Linked DNA regions of Homo sapiens: region 1 is linked to region 2. Evidence: promoter capture Hi-C in human tissues and cell types (Jung and others, 2019). All regions are on one chromosome and are shown on one strand. The core of a region is centred on a gene start or on the middle of the fragment in contact, and the rest is flanking DNA. Distances in the headings are between cores, read along the strand shown.

What was found. The method cuts DNA at HindIII sites, captures the fragments that hold promoters and counts their contacts. A contact is called where the count stands out against the background at its distance.
Region 1: a contact is called between a fragment that was not itself captured here and the fragment with the promoter of VPS18 in region 2, in 3 of the 25 tissues and cell types used here (bladder, mesendoderm cells and thymus).

The regions. Positions count from the first base shown.
Region 1 is chr15:40,781,975-40,789,074 of GRCh38, reverse strand. The region is part of intron 1 of DNAJC17 (DnaJ heat shock protein family (Hsp40) member C17); the gene reads left to right. Among named protein-coding and RNA genes, the nearest start is that of C15orf62, 16 kb to the right of the region's middle. The HindIII fragment of the contact is 6,259 bases long and covers 1-5,167 here.
Region 2 is chr15:40,889,923-40,896,654 of GRCh38, reverse strand. It overlaps VPS18 (VPS18 core subunit of CORVET and HOPS complexes), which reads right to left and starts at 2,205. Exons shown (of 5, transcript NM_020857.3): 1 at 1,796-2,205; 2 at 576-717. The coding sequence starts at 1,886. RefSeq lists an enhancer at 1,390-1,479 and silencers at 2,320-2,489, 4,611-4,660, 5,929-5,978. The HindIII fragment of the contact is 19,251 bases long and covers 1-6,732 here.

The DNA.
Region 1 (7,100 bases), core at 789-3,288, 110 kb after region 2:
TTGGGAGCATTGAGCTGAGGGGGCTGTCTGGGGTTGGCCAGCTCTCTGCTTGTGCCAAGCCTTGGGAGCAGCCCATAGGTTGTACAGTGCCCAGGCATTTGGGGACTTCTCTGTAGTGCTGTCCCAATAGGGGTCACAGGCTGTAAGGAATGAAAGGATCAATCTTTCAGGCACAGGGAACTTCTCTTTTATTTTTATTTATTTATGTTTATTTAAAGAGATGGATCTCACTCTGTTGCCCAGGCTGGCATGCAGTGGCATGCAGCCTCAAACTCGTGGACTCAAATAATCCTTCCCAGCCCCACCCAAGTAGCTGGGACTACAGGTGCATGCCACCATGCCTGGCTCATTTAAAAAAAAATTTTTTTTTTTTTTTTTTGAGACAGAGTCTCGCTCTGTGGCCCAGGCTGGAGTGCAGTGGCATGATCTCGGCTCACTGCAAGCTCCGCCTCCCGGGTTCATGCCATTCTCCTGCCTCAGCCTCCCGAGTAGCTGGGACTACAGGCGCCCGCCACCATGCCCGGCTAATTTCTTGTATTTTTAGTAGAGACGGGGTTTCACCGTGTTAGCCAGGATGGTCTCGATCTCCTGACCTCATGATCCACCCACCTCGGCCTCCCAAAGTGCTGGGATTACAGGCGTGAGCCACCGTGCCCGGCCCATTTTTAAATTTTTTGTAGAGGTGGGGTTCGCTTTGTTGCCCATGCTGATCTTGAACTCCTGGCTTCAGGCGATCCTCTTGCTTTGGCCTACCAAAGTGTTAGGATTACAGGCATCAGCCACCATGCCTGGCCAGAGGGGACTTTTAGGCAGGTGCCCAGAGCTCTGTTGTTTGCTTCCTGCGTGTGACATCAGGCAGTCATATACCTCTGGGGTTCCTGCTAGTGAGGGGATGGGGAGGCATCTGCCTCTCCGGGCTTGGGGAGACGTGGCTGCCCCAGCTGTTATCACTCACTGTGCCTGTGACTGGAACTGGGCCTGGCAGTGGGTTTCCAGCTGATTTACCCGGGATGCTTTGTCCATTCAGTGCTTGTTGTCACATAGAGCTGCCTCCCTCTGTGTCCTCCTTATCTAAGTCTAACCTATCAGCCTCGGCCTCTTTACTTGTACCACTTACTTACCTGGCTCCAAGCTTTATTACAAGAAAGGACAGCAACCTTTTAAAAAATAATGATCCCTTCTTTGTAGGGCACCTTTCTTTTAAGTTAATGATGGCTATTTTGTATTTATTGGATCCCTTAGCACTTAGCTTTTTTGGGTGAGTCAGGAGTTCCTTCCCCCATCAAGAGGTGAAACTGGAGGCAGGTGGATGTCAGAGGCCCTGCTGTGTGCTTGCGGCAAAACCCAGTGGAGGTGGCTAGAGACCCAGCTTCCAGCCCTCCTCCCCTGCTCTGGGTTCAGGTTGCTGAAAGTGGTAGAACCGGTTATAGAGCTTCCGGGGAAGGGCTGGGTGGCTGCCAATTTATTATTCATTGTCTGATGTGGGCAATGAGGGGGTAACATTTAGTTCCCACTGTGGTTATCCTGGCAGTCTGCTTTAGTAATTCCTTCCCTTTCCCAGACTTGGTTTTTTAAGAGGAGGTGTTAGCAGGGAGGAGGAGAAATTGTGAAATAGTGGTCAGATCTCCTAGGGTCTGGATGGCACCTACTTCCTTCTGCTCCTCAGTGGGTCTGAAGTAATTGACATAGTTGAGGTTTCCGATTGTGTTTTGGTTGAGAACAAATGAATGTTTGCCAATTCATGCAACAGATATTTATTGTGTGCCTGCTGAATGCCAGGTGCTGTTCACTGTTCTGGACCCTGGGGAGAAGCAGAACTCCCTGCCTCCTAAGTACATCCACTTTATTTGTAAGGGGAACCCCCATACCTTCCTATACCCTTATGCTCTCATTTAAGGTATAGTTATAACCAGCTTATCTGTTTCTCTAGACCATACCAGAAAAGAAGCAGCAGATGAGCAGCACTTCTAGGGAAGGGCTGGCATCTGGCAGTCTAGTAGAGGCCAACTAAGGAAGTAATAGGAAAACTATTAAAAGAGTAGAATTTAAAATCCTCGCCACCTAGGGAAGCAAATGAAAAGCCTGACACCACTCTCCGTAGAACGTGTCATACTATTCAGTAGTTGATGTTCTGGATGATGATCCTGAGACATCAAAAACAGATTAAACTCAACCAGTCTAGGATGGAAAAAGGGTGGTAGACAGTGAGGTTTTTAGAAAGCCATCAGGAGAAAGACCAAGTTTCTGCAAATTGCAGTTCGAAGTACTCACGGAGCTTACATTTATCTGAGATCTTCGTCCTTCTGAGGCTGGGCCTTAGAAAGAGCTTCTCCTCTGAAAAGCCATGATCTGGATGGGGAACTTTGGGTTGGAAACATTTGAACTGTCACCTGGATCCTTTGTGAAGTCTCAGAAATGCAAGTGTTTCTAAGCGCTAGAGAGACCAGGGGATTTAGGGGAAACCTATAGGTAAAGAAGAAAAGCTGCAAGTGAAAAGCCACACCTTGCTGTGGCTGCTTCAGCTCTGCCTCAGTGATCCCAGCACCTGCAGACACAGTTTCTTTCTTTCTCTTTTTAGAGATGGGGTCTTGCTCTGTTGCCCAGGGTGGTCTCAAACTCCTGGGCTCAAGCGATCCTCCCGCCTCACCTTCCCAAAATGCTGGGATTACAGGCGTGAGCCACTGGACCTGGGCCAGAGTCAGTTTCTGGAGGAGCTTCCAACCCGGGATACCTGGCTTTCAGCAGTCCTGTTTATCCTATATCATAAGGAGTAAGATTATAGAGGATGGCCCTTCTATTTCTTGTTCTTCTGAAAGTTCCTCTCCTTCCCAATTTTGTGATAGTTATAAAAAATAATTGTTGTACATTTTTACCCTGAATCTAGCCTTTTGAGCTGTTCATAAGGTAGGATTATTTAATAATAAACAATATTGAGACCGGAAGGTTTTTCAAAGGCCTGCTTTAGGAGAGTTGTGTTTACATGGTGAGAAATTCTTCAGGCAGCAGTCAACTCCAGGAGGGCTGGACAAAGCTGGGAATCTAGTTTGTAGTACAAAGCACCAAATTCTAGGCCAACCGGTTCAAAGTCAAAACTGGTCTTCCAGGCTAAAACCAAGGGATGGGCCCTGCCCAGGGCAGGTTTAACAGTTAAATATAGTAATAACTAGTTAATCAAGACAGACATACTTGACCAACATTCTTAGGCCAGCTGGGTTTTGATTCAAGGCCACTCTGGAAGATCTCAGGCTACCTACCCATCCCTTCTACCCCTTGAATAAGAGTATTTCAGAGACCCTGGGAGTGAACCCAGGATTGAATTTTAGATCTACCCCACAGCAGACTCAAATCCAGCCCTGTCCACCTAGAGAATTCAAATGGAGTTGACCTGCATCCACTGTGGACCAGGGTCCATTCCTGAATTCCTGTCCAATTGGCATCCTGCTGGCCTGGTGTCACAGTTTACCCTCTTCCAGAAGTAGAGGAGAGAAAGGTTTGGGAACTTGTAGGAAGCACCTAGTTTTTGTCAGGTGCTTACACGGATCATTTTCTTTAATCCTTCCAGCAGCCCTGTGTGTAGGATTTATTCTTCTCAGTTTGATGTTGAAGTCCCTAAGGCTGTGTGAGCTTCAGTAATTTGCCCAAGGTCATGCTATCAGTATGTAGAAGATTCCGAATTTGAAAATACATCTGCCAGACTCCAGAACTTGCCCTCTTTTAGTGAACCATGCTGCCTCCTAGCTTAGAATTGTGGAAAGAAGCTAAACAATTTTGTTTTTGTTTCTTACCAGTTTTTTTCTTGTATCACTTGAAAAGTAATACAAGCTTATTATAGAAAGTAAATATCAGCTATAACCCTTTCAGCTGTTTATAAGGTAGGATTATTTAATAATAAACGATACTGAGACTGGAAGCTTTTTCGGGGATATCCCTTTTCTTTCAGAGATGTTGTTGTTGTTGTTGTTTTGTTGTTGTTGTTGTTATGGACTTTCACTCTTCCCTCCCAGGCTGGAGTGCAATGGCATGATCTCGGCTCACTGCAAGCTCCGCCTCCTGGGTTCAAGCGATTGTCCTGCCTCAGCCTCCTGAGTAGCTGGGATTACAGGCTCCCACCACCATGCCCAGCTAATTTTTGTATTTTTAGTAGCGACGGGGTTTCACCATGTTGGCCAAGCTGGTCTCCAACCCCTGACCTCAGGTGATCTGCCCGCCTCAGCCTCCCAGAGTGCTGGGATTACATGTGTAAGCCAACACGCCCGGCCCAGAGATATTTTTATATTTTTGTATTTCCATCTGTTGGGGATGAAAGTCCTAGCCTCCCTGTTTGGCTTTATCTGACACCACTCTGGCAGAGGTTTAGGGTAGCAAGAATGGAAGTCTATGCTCTCTACCTGGCCTTTGATGGCATGGGTGGGGTGGTGTCCACTGTTTTTTCTGTGGTAATTGGCTGGAGTAGAATAGTTTTTGCCTAAAGTAATGTTTGTATGGCTTTTCATTGAATGGATTTTGGGTATCATAATTAACCCTTATGTCACAGTTTCCTCATTTGTAAAATGAGGAGGATAATAATTTCTACCTCATAGGGGCTTTAAGAATTAAATAAGTTAATATATGTAAAGCATATTTGACAATATGAGTGGATTTTTCAGCTTGAATAATTTTATTTTCCTATTACAGTGAAAAACCAAAATTCCAATATAGAACATTCAAAATAAATTATGAAACACAAAAGAATATTTATCATTCCCTTAGAATAAAATTCAGAAAGCATTCTCTCAAAAAAAGGAAAGAAAATGAAGGAGATGCCACTGCTGGACACCCCTTCTGTCTTGCTTTCTTACTGCTCCTTCTTTTTTTTTTTGAGACAGAATTTTATTTTTGTCGCCCAGGCTGGAGTGCAGTGGTGCAATCTCGGCTCACTGCAACCTCCGCCTCCCAGGTTCCTGCCTCAGCCTCCCTAGTAGCTGGGACTACAGGCGTGTGCCACCACGCCCAGCTAATTTTTGTATTTTTGGTAGAGACGGGGTTTTACCACGTTGGCCAGGCTGGTCTCGAATTCCTGACCTCAACTGATTCGCCCGCCTCAGCCTCCCAAAATGCTGGGATTACAGGCGTGAGCCACCACACCCAGCCTGCTCCTTCTTCTTCACACTCACTTCTACTCCCCCTCTCAGATTTATAACAAGGAACATACAAACTTTTATTTTATTTTTTTGAGACAGAGCCTTACTCTGTCACCCAGGCTGGGGTACAGTGACACGATCTCAGCTCACTGAAGCCTCTGCCCCCCGGAATCAAGTGATTCTTCTGCCTCAGCTTCCCCCATAGCTGAGATTACAAGCATGCACCACCACACCCGGCTAATTTTTATATTTTTAGTAGATACAAGTTTCACCATGTTGGCCAGGCTGGTCTCAAACTCCAGACCTCAAGTGATCCACCCACCTCGGCCTCCCACAGCGATGGGATTAGAGGTGTGAGCCACCATGCCCAGCCTAAACCACTTTAAAAGAGCCCCATGATACAAAAGAAAACATCTTCCACAAAACCCCCCTACATCCCTGGGGCAAGCCTACTAGTCCTAGTCCTGAGGAAGTTCATCTTGAAGGTAGTGTTGCAGGTGATGCCATAGATACTGGGACATGGACCGCCTCCCCCTCCCTTCCTCTCACCCATCCCAGAGAGAGGGTGGAGATAGGATCAGAGAGGAGGGGCCCAGAGGCCAGGAACAAACACCCAACAGACTCCTGTCAGTGTGTGTAGGTGCTTTTATATGTGTTAATGAACCTTGATGTCAGAGGGCTGGGGAGATTGAGAAAGAACATCTTTATAATGTTTTTGGTATTGTTTTACTTATTGAAAAAAAGCAAACAGGGGCCCTGAAATATAAAATATGTTCAGTAAAGGAATGAGGCTGGAGGCACAATAAAGCAGGCAAAGAGAGCAAAAGAAAGAAAAGACGAATGATAAGGGACCTAAAAAGTAAAGATGATATATTGCAAAGATGACACTGTCTTAAGCTAGCACCTCCTTTCCCTTAATATTGTTCTTTTTTGTAGTGAAAACAGAGCTAGGCAGGGAGGGTTAGGGTGGGAGGTGAGCAGGCAGGGCAGATGTGCTTCGGTGGGCGATTGGGAAGGCAGGTGGCACGTCTACACCCTCTCTGCCCAGCGCCTGTCCTGGGTGGTTCCTGCTGCCTCCAAGGCAGTCAGGAGAACCAAACAGCTTGGGCTGCCATGGCAGGTGCCCTGGCTATGGCCCAGCAGGTGGCAGCACACCCCTAGAGGTCCTGGGCCCGGTGGCTGCCTCATGGATGGAGGAGTTGCCCAGCAGGTGCTCACCTTGTGGATGCTGGCTGCTTACCTCTGAAAGTCCTTATTTAGCACACTTGGGTGTAGAAGCGTTTCTTGCGTCCATCTTGGAAGCTTAGAAATCCAATCTGCTTAGCTCTTCCTCCAGGAGGTTTGAGCAGCAGGTAACACACACCAAGCAGAAGGGAGAAAGCAAAGGCCTTGGAGGCAGAGGACGGATTCTGGGGTTGTGTACACTGTCTTCACTTACAACAGCTATTAGGTAGCACACGAAAGAGAATCTTGGTAGCTGTGTTTATTTTTACTTATGTAAGAAATATTGGGGTTTCTTTCTTTCTATGTATTTAAGAGAGAGTCTTGCTCTGTCACCCAGGCTGGAGTGCAGTGGCATCATCATAGCTCACGGCAGCCTCAAAATCCTTGGCTGAGGTGATCCTCCCTCCTCAACCTCCTTAGTAGCTGGTACTGCAGGCACGCACCACTATGCCTGGCTAATTTTTTATTTTATTTTAATTTAATTTAAAATTTTTTTATTTTTATTTTTGAGACAAGGTCTCACTCTGTCACCTAGGCTGAAATGCAGTGGTGTGAACATGCTCACTACAGCTTCAACCTCCCGGGCTCCAGTGATCCTCCCACCTCAGCCTCCTGAGTAGGGGGACAAAGGCACATGCTACCACACCTGGCTCATGTTTAAAAAATTTTTGTAGAGATGAGGTCTTGCCATGTTGCCCAGGCTTGGCTGGAACTCCTGGGCTCAAGCGATCCTCTCGCCTCAACCGCCTGAGTAGC
Region 2 (6,732 bases), core at 956-3,455:
ATTTTTAGTAGAAACAGCGTTTCACCATGTTGGCCAGGCTGGTGTCGAACTCCTGACCTCAGGTGATCCACCCTCCTCAGCCTCCCAAAGTGCTGGGATAACAGGTGTGAGCCACTGCACCTGACTTTTTTTTTTTTTTAAAGAGACAGGAGTACAGTGGTGCAAACACAGCTCACTGCAGCCTTGAACTCCTGGGCTCAAGTGATCCTCTTGCCTCGGCCTCCCCAGTAGTTGGGACTGCACCATCACACCTAGCTAATTTTTAAAAATTTGTTTTGGTAGAGACGGGGGTCTCACTATATTGCCCAGGCTGGTCTCAAACTGCTGATTTCATGTGATCCTCTTGTCTTGGCCTCCCGAAGTGCTGAGATGATAGGTGTGAGCCACCATGCCCTGCCAGGCCAGATACTTAACCACTACCCTGTATTGGTTCTCTTTGGAAAGGGATAGGATATTTCCTGAAAACTCCAAATTCACTGCTTTACTTGCCTGGAATAGAAGAAAGGCCCAGTGAGTTAACAGTCCCCAAACACCTCTCTAGTCCCTACTCCTAAGCTCTGTGAGCTCTTGATTACCGGAGCAGTGTATCCTTGCCCAGGCTCATGCACAGCTGATTGCTGGAGACGACAAGACTGGTAATGCGCTCGGAAGGGGTGAAGTCAATGCGCTGCTTTGTGAAGATGGGCACTTCCTTCTCCAGCTGGGCATTCACATACCCTACAGGTAAGGAATGACAAGAAGATTAGCTGTGGAAGAGACAGGTGAAGGGCAAGGAGAGGCAGAAAAAACACCACAGTGCTCCTCGCCACTTTCCTGACATATTCCTATCCCCAGGACCTTGGTTAACAAATAGTTTGATATCAAGTCGTTTGCTGGTCACCTTTACAATAGAGGTCTGGAGCTCTTTCCACACTCTGACAGCAGTGAGGGGTTGATTCTTTGAACCCTTAAGATGCTGTCACAGCATGATATACCTGCTCCCACTGGTAATGGGGCTGCGTGGAGGTGGGACGGGACTGGTGGTCTGGGTATTCTCCCTTATCAGGTCTTTGGCCCAGCAATCCCAGCTTAACTGAAGTAGTATAGCCCCATTCTCTGCCCCCCTCCCTGCCCATGCGGTAATGAGCCTCAGTGTAGAGTTGGCAAGTGCTGGGATATTTTGAGCATTGAATGAAGGTAAAGACTAGAGTGAAAGCAGCTCCAATTCGTTAACTCCACTCACTGGAACAGTTCCCCAGGGCTCCCTATGCCCTCATTCTCCTGGAGACTCACTACTTTCTACAAAAACGTCCCCAAACTCCAGGCTGCACCCAGCTATAGCCAAGGCCAAAAAGATTTCATCTCCATTTTCCCCGTTCAGCGACAAAATTCCCTCTGGGACCCTCCCTTCTTCCTCTGCAATACTCCGCCTTCACCACTTTCTTTGTCCATTCCTTCCCTCCCACCTCCAGAAGGGGCCTGGTGGGAAAAGCATCAGCAGAAGCCGGGAGCCCATTCTAAGTTCTCCCAACAGCCCAACTGCGCCCTGTAGGTGAGTAATTCCTTATCTGGGCCCCAATTCCCTCTCAAAAGGACCCTAGCGGTAGAGCCTAGATCACGCGGCAGCTCCCGTTGCTCTTTCAAACTTCGACTATCCACCAGCTGGGGGCCAAGAGAGCCTGAGGAGAATCAGGGGCCTAGACCCGGAAGGCACGGCCCAGGGGATGACCCCGAGCTCTTGGAGCTGCCCTCCTCGCTGCTCCCACGCAAATGCTAGGAGAGCCGAAAGGGGCAGCGGCACCCTCCTCTTCCTTACCCGAGTGGGGGATGCCCACGCTAGGGCAGCCGGGCTGCAAGACGGCCGAGCGGGACAGCGAGTTCTCGTACTCATCCAGGATGGACGCCATGGTGCCCGGCCTCTGGGCTCTTTGTCCGGGGCCTGGGGATTACAAAAGGGCTACCCCCCCGGGGTCCCCGTCGCCCCAGAATGGAAGCTGTAACTCCCCAGCCTCTGACAGATCCTGGGAACCTGCAGCCGTCGCCTCCTCTTTAAAATCCTGAGGATCCTCTTGCTCTTGCCTTATGCAGCGAGATAATCGGGCAGCCCTCGTCCTTGAATCTGGCGCAGTCTTGCACCTTACTCCCCGCCCCCGCTACAAAAAAATCACAGGCTCCCTTCAGCCGGTGCCAGGTGATCCCAACCTCGCCCCGGCAGCTCAGCTGACTCCCGCCCCCGTGACGCGGGCCTAAAACGTAACTTCCGGGTTCTCAGAGCCCCGCGTACGCTGGCGCACAACGTCGCCGGGCCAGCCAGCAGAAGGCGAGACGAGGGCTGAGGGCTGGGCGCGTGGCGAGTGCTGCTGAACACAAGCCCCGCCCCCAGGATCCTGCTGCAGTTCCGAGCTTTGACACCAGGAGGCAATCCCGGCTTTCTCAGCCGGCCTTCCCCACCCGCCCCGCGCCGCCCAGTTTTGGCTTTCGTGCCCAAGCTCCGCTCCCTCGGGTGGTCTGTCCAGCCTCCCTGACCAGCTCCCGCTCCCGCCTCTCTAAACAGCCTCGGGGAACCTCCCGTTCCTCAATCCAATCGCTGTCTCTATCCCACCGTCACAGGGCACACGCAGACAACTCCTGGCCACTCTTCTCCCTTACCCAAAGGCCCCCCAGCTTCCAGGAGACCGCAGAGCTGGTGGCCAGGCTAGTGGGAAGCCCTGTGCCAGGAACCGCCCTGACCTGCCCCACAGTGGCTCCTTGGCTCAGGGTTGCTGGGCCGCTTCCATTCACTCATTCACCAAAATGTGGTTGAGCACTTACTCTGTGCCAGGCCTTGGGCTGGGCGCTGGGGTCACAGAGATGAGGACAGCCCCTCCCCGCCCTGGAAAAGGTCGTAAGCCAGCAGGGGCGCTGGACCCGTAAATAGACCATTCATACTAGAAAAGCAAGTGATGGATTATCCATCAGGCACTTACTCCACGAATGAGCGTCCACTCTGTGCCAAGCACTGTTCCAGGCTCTGGGGACGTGGCAGAGAACAAGACGGAAAATGTCTCTTGCCTGGTGGGGCGTACCCAGCGACGTGGCCACGGCACTGAGAGCGTGAAGGAGCAGGGAACAAATACCTGCCAAGCCTAGCAAGAACGAGGGACAAGTGGGAGCAAGCGTGAAGGCGGGGGCCGCCCAGCCTGAGGTGGAGAGGGGAGTCCTCAGCCAGGGACCTGCGAGGGCTGGGGCGCGACTGTGGTTGGGTTTTCCTCTCTCACCTGCTTAGGCGACCCAGATGGAGTCTGTTCCCTTCTGGGGCCCTTGGATTCTACCTTGCTAAAGTGGAAGGCTCTGGACTAGGGTCGCCACCGTCCTGGCTCTGCTGGGCGGCCCCCGCCTAACAACTAAGAGCATCCCTTTGCTCTCAGAAGTTTCCAGGTTTGCACCATACCTTATGTGGTTGGGTTACTCTTGCTCAACTTCCTGGCCACGTGCGGAGAACTGTGACTCTCACCAGCCCCACTGAGGGCTATCTGGGCTCTCTGGCTTGGAGGGGCACTAGTCCTGGGGCAGGTGACAAGTATGCTGTCCAGGCTCATTTCCCTTCGCACCAGGGTCCTGCTTCTCTTGACCAAGCCTGCAGCCTCAATGCAGCCTTCCCACCTGAGGTTGCCAGGTCCCAGGAGGGAAGTGCAGGAGCAGGACAATAGGCAGGAGGCTTCCTCTAAGAAAAGTGATCCCAGACAGGGAGCTGCCCTGCTCCATACATAACACTTCACCCCCAGGTCACCTGCCATCTGCCCTCAGGTCTGGACTGTGCAGAGGGTTGTCCCTGCTGCACAGAGCCCATTAGCAGTTGGAGGTCAGCATAGGAGTGCTGCCTTAGGGACACAGAGTACTTCCAGCTACAGCCTCAGGGACCCCAGCACCCCATTGTTGGGCTCCATGGCTCTCCGGGATGTATGGGATAGGCCTGGGTGGACCCTGTTTGTGGCAGACTCAGTACAGTCTCCCTTATGCGTTGATTACCACAGTGCATTTCCACCTACTCATTCTTCAGTTCTTAGGCTGGACTTTGGATTCTTTGAGAGCCACAGAATCAAGTGTGGCAGTTGCAATGAGACAGGTAAGGGATGACTGCTAGGGCATCAAAAGAGAGGATTCCTGTATGAAAGCAGCTGAATTTGACCCAAGACTTGAAGTGCATGTATGATCTCCAAGGGCAAGCTGTATCTCTTATCCCTGCCCAGCCACTTGCTAGCTGTGACACTGCACAGTTGATGCTCTTAGCTTCAGTTTCCTCATCTACAGAGACAAATACCTACCTAGTAGGTCTGTGCTGAGAAGTAAATGAGGGATCCACGTGAAAGCTCACTGCTATAGTATAATGCCCAACATGGAGCATGTGCTTAATAAACTCTAAATGTGACTTTCATCTGACAGTCTCTCTCAAGTCCTCCTCCTTCCTGAAGCCTCTCTGGATCCCTCAGAACTCTTTTTAGAGATGGGATCTTGCTCTGTCACCCAGGCTGGAGTGCAGTGATGTGATCATAGCTCATCTAAACACCTGGGCTCAAACCATTCTCCTGTCTCAGCCTTCCCAGTAGCTGGGATTACAGGTGCGAGCCACTGCGCCCAGCTGGCTTTTCTTATTCTGGCCACTTGGGGGCCCCTAATGATGCAGTGTGGACATTTTGCTTTGATAGAAACTGCAGGAAATAACCCAGTGATTTCTGAGCATGAAGATACAGAGGTGCCTTAGGGAACTCACAGCTAGAGACATACGCACCAGCCTCTAGTCCTCAGAGTCATTGTAGCAGTTACCATGAGACAGGTAACAGGTGACTGCTAAGCCAATGAGAGAGAGGATCTGTGTAAGAAAGCAGTTGAATTTGACCTAAGACTTGAAGAGCATGTAGGACCTCTAAGGGCAAAAAGAGAAGGTATTATGCAGTCCTCAAGAAAACCAAGAGCAGGGCTGAGCACGGTGGCTCACACCTGTAATTCCAGCACTTTGGGAGGCTAAGGTGGGAGGATCACTTGAGTCCAGTAGTTTGAGACCAGCCTAGCCAACGTGGCAAAACCCCATCTCTATTAAAAATACAAAAACTAGCCAGGTGTGGTGGTGCATGCCTGTGGTCCCAGCTACTCGGGAGGCTAAGGCAGGAGAATCGCTTCAACCTGGGAGGCAGAGGTTGCAGTGAACCAAGGTTGTGCCACTACACTACAGCCTGGGTGACAGAGTGAGACTCTGCCTCAAAAAAAGAAAAACAGAAAGGAAAGAAGGAAGGAAAAAGGAAAGGAAAGGAAAAGAAAACAGCAATGGCCTGCAAGCAGTGTGATTTTGGGGTACAACGGTGGAGTGCTAGGGAGTGGAGGGAATGAGGCGGGCTGTGGCCAGGTTGCAAAGTTATTCAATGCGCCATGGGAAGGTTTTGGTTGGGGTTGAGAGAGTATATGATGTGGGTTCTGGAAAAATGGGTGGTGGCTTAGGTGGAGATCCCCTCAGAGCAGATGAGACCCGAGCAGAGGCAAAGGAGAAGCAGTGAGGACCCAAACAGGAGAAAGAACATAGGCTGGGGAGAACTTTCCGAAGAAGGGCCCCCAGGACTTGGTGTCAAGTTAGATTTGAGAAGTGACAGAAGAGTGCAGGATGACTCCTGGGGAGACCTGGCAGATGGTGGCAGTGACATAATGGTCAAGGAGGAGGATCCCGGTGAAGAGGGGTGGGGTCACTTGATTGAGCTCAACCTGGACAGTGGCACATGAGACAACTGCAGGGCACTCCGTGGAGGAGCCCAGACCATGGGCACACTCTTCCAGGACACTCACTAACTCACTCATAAACAGTTGTTAAAAGTTGCATGAATGAGCTCTCTCATGTCTCAGTTTCTATATTTGTAAGGTGAGTATTGTGAGTATAATAGCATATTATGCAAATCACCCAAAGCTGTGCCTCAATACAAAATGCTCTATACAAGTTAACTACCAGTAGTAATTGTTGACTTAGTTAAGACCAAGATTAAAAGGAATGATTTAATTGACTTAATTAAAAATAAATTTTCTGGTTGGGTGCAGTGGCTCACACCTATAATCCCAGCAGTTTGGGAGGCTGAGGCAGGAGGATCACTTGAGTCCAGGAGTTCAAGACCAGCCTGGGCAACATAGTGAGAACTTGTCTCTATTAAAAAAAAAAAAAAAAAGATTTTCTGTTTGAAATAATTTAAAATTTACAGGCCGGGCGCAGTGGCTCATGCCTGTAATCCCAGCACTTTGGGAGGCCGAAGCGGGCGGATCACAAGGTCAGGAGATCGAGACCATGCTGTCTAACATGGTGAAACCCTGTCTCTACTAAAAATACAAAAAAAATTACCTGGGCGTGGTGGTGGGCGCCTGTAGTCCCAGCTACTCGGGAGGCTGAGGCAGGAGAATGGCGTGAACCCGGGAGGCGGAGCTTGCAGTGAGCCAAGATCGTGCTACTGCACTCCAGCCTGGGCGACAGAGTGAGACTCTGTCTCAAAAAAATAAATAAATAAAATAAAAATTTACAGAAAAATTGAGAAGATAGATCAGAGAGTTCCTATATACCTCATGTGCAGTCTCCTTTAGTATGAATATCTTACATTAGTATGGTGCCATTGTTAAAATTAATGAACCAATATTGACATATTATTATTAACTAAAGTTCATACTCTATTCAAATTTCCTTAGTGTTTTTTTTTTCTTTCTTTCTTTTTAGACGGGGTCTCACTCTGTAGCCCAGGCTGTAGTGCA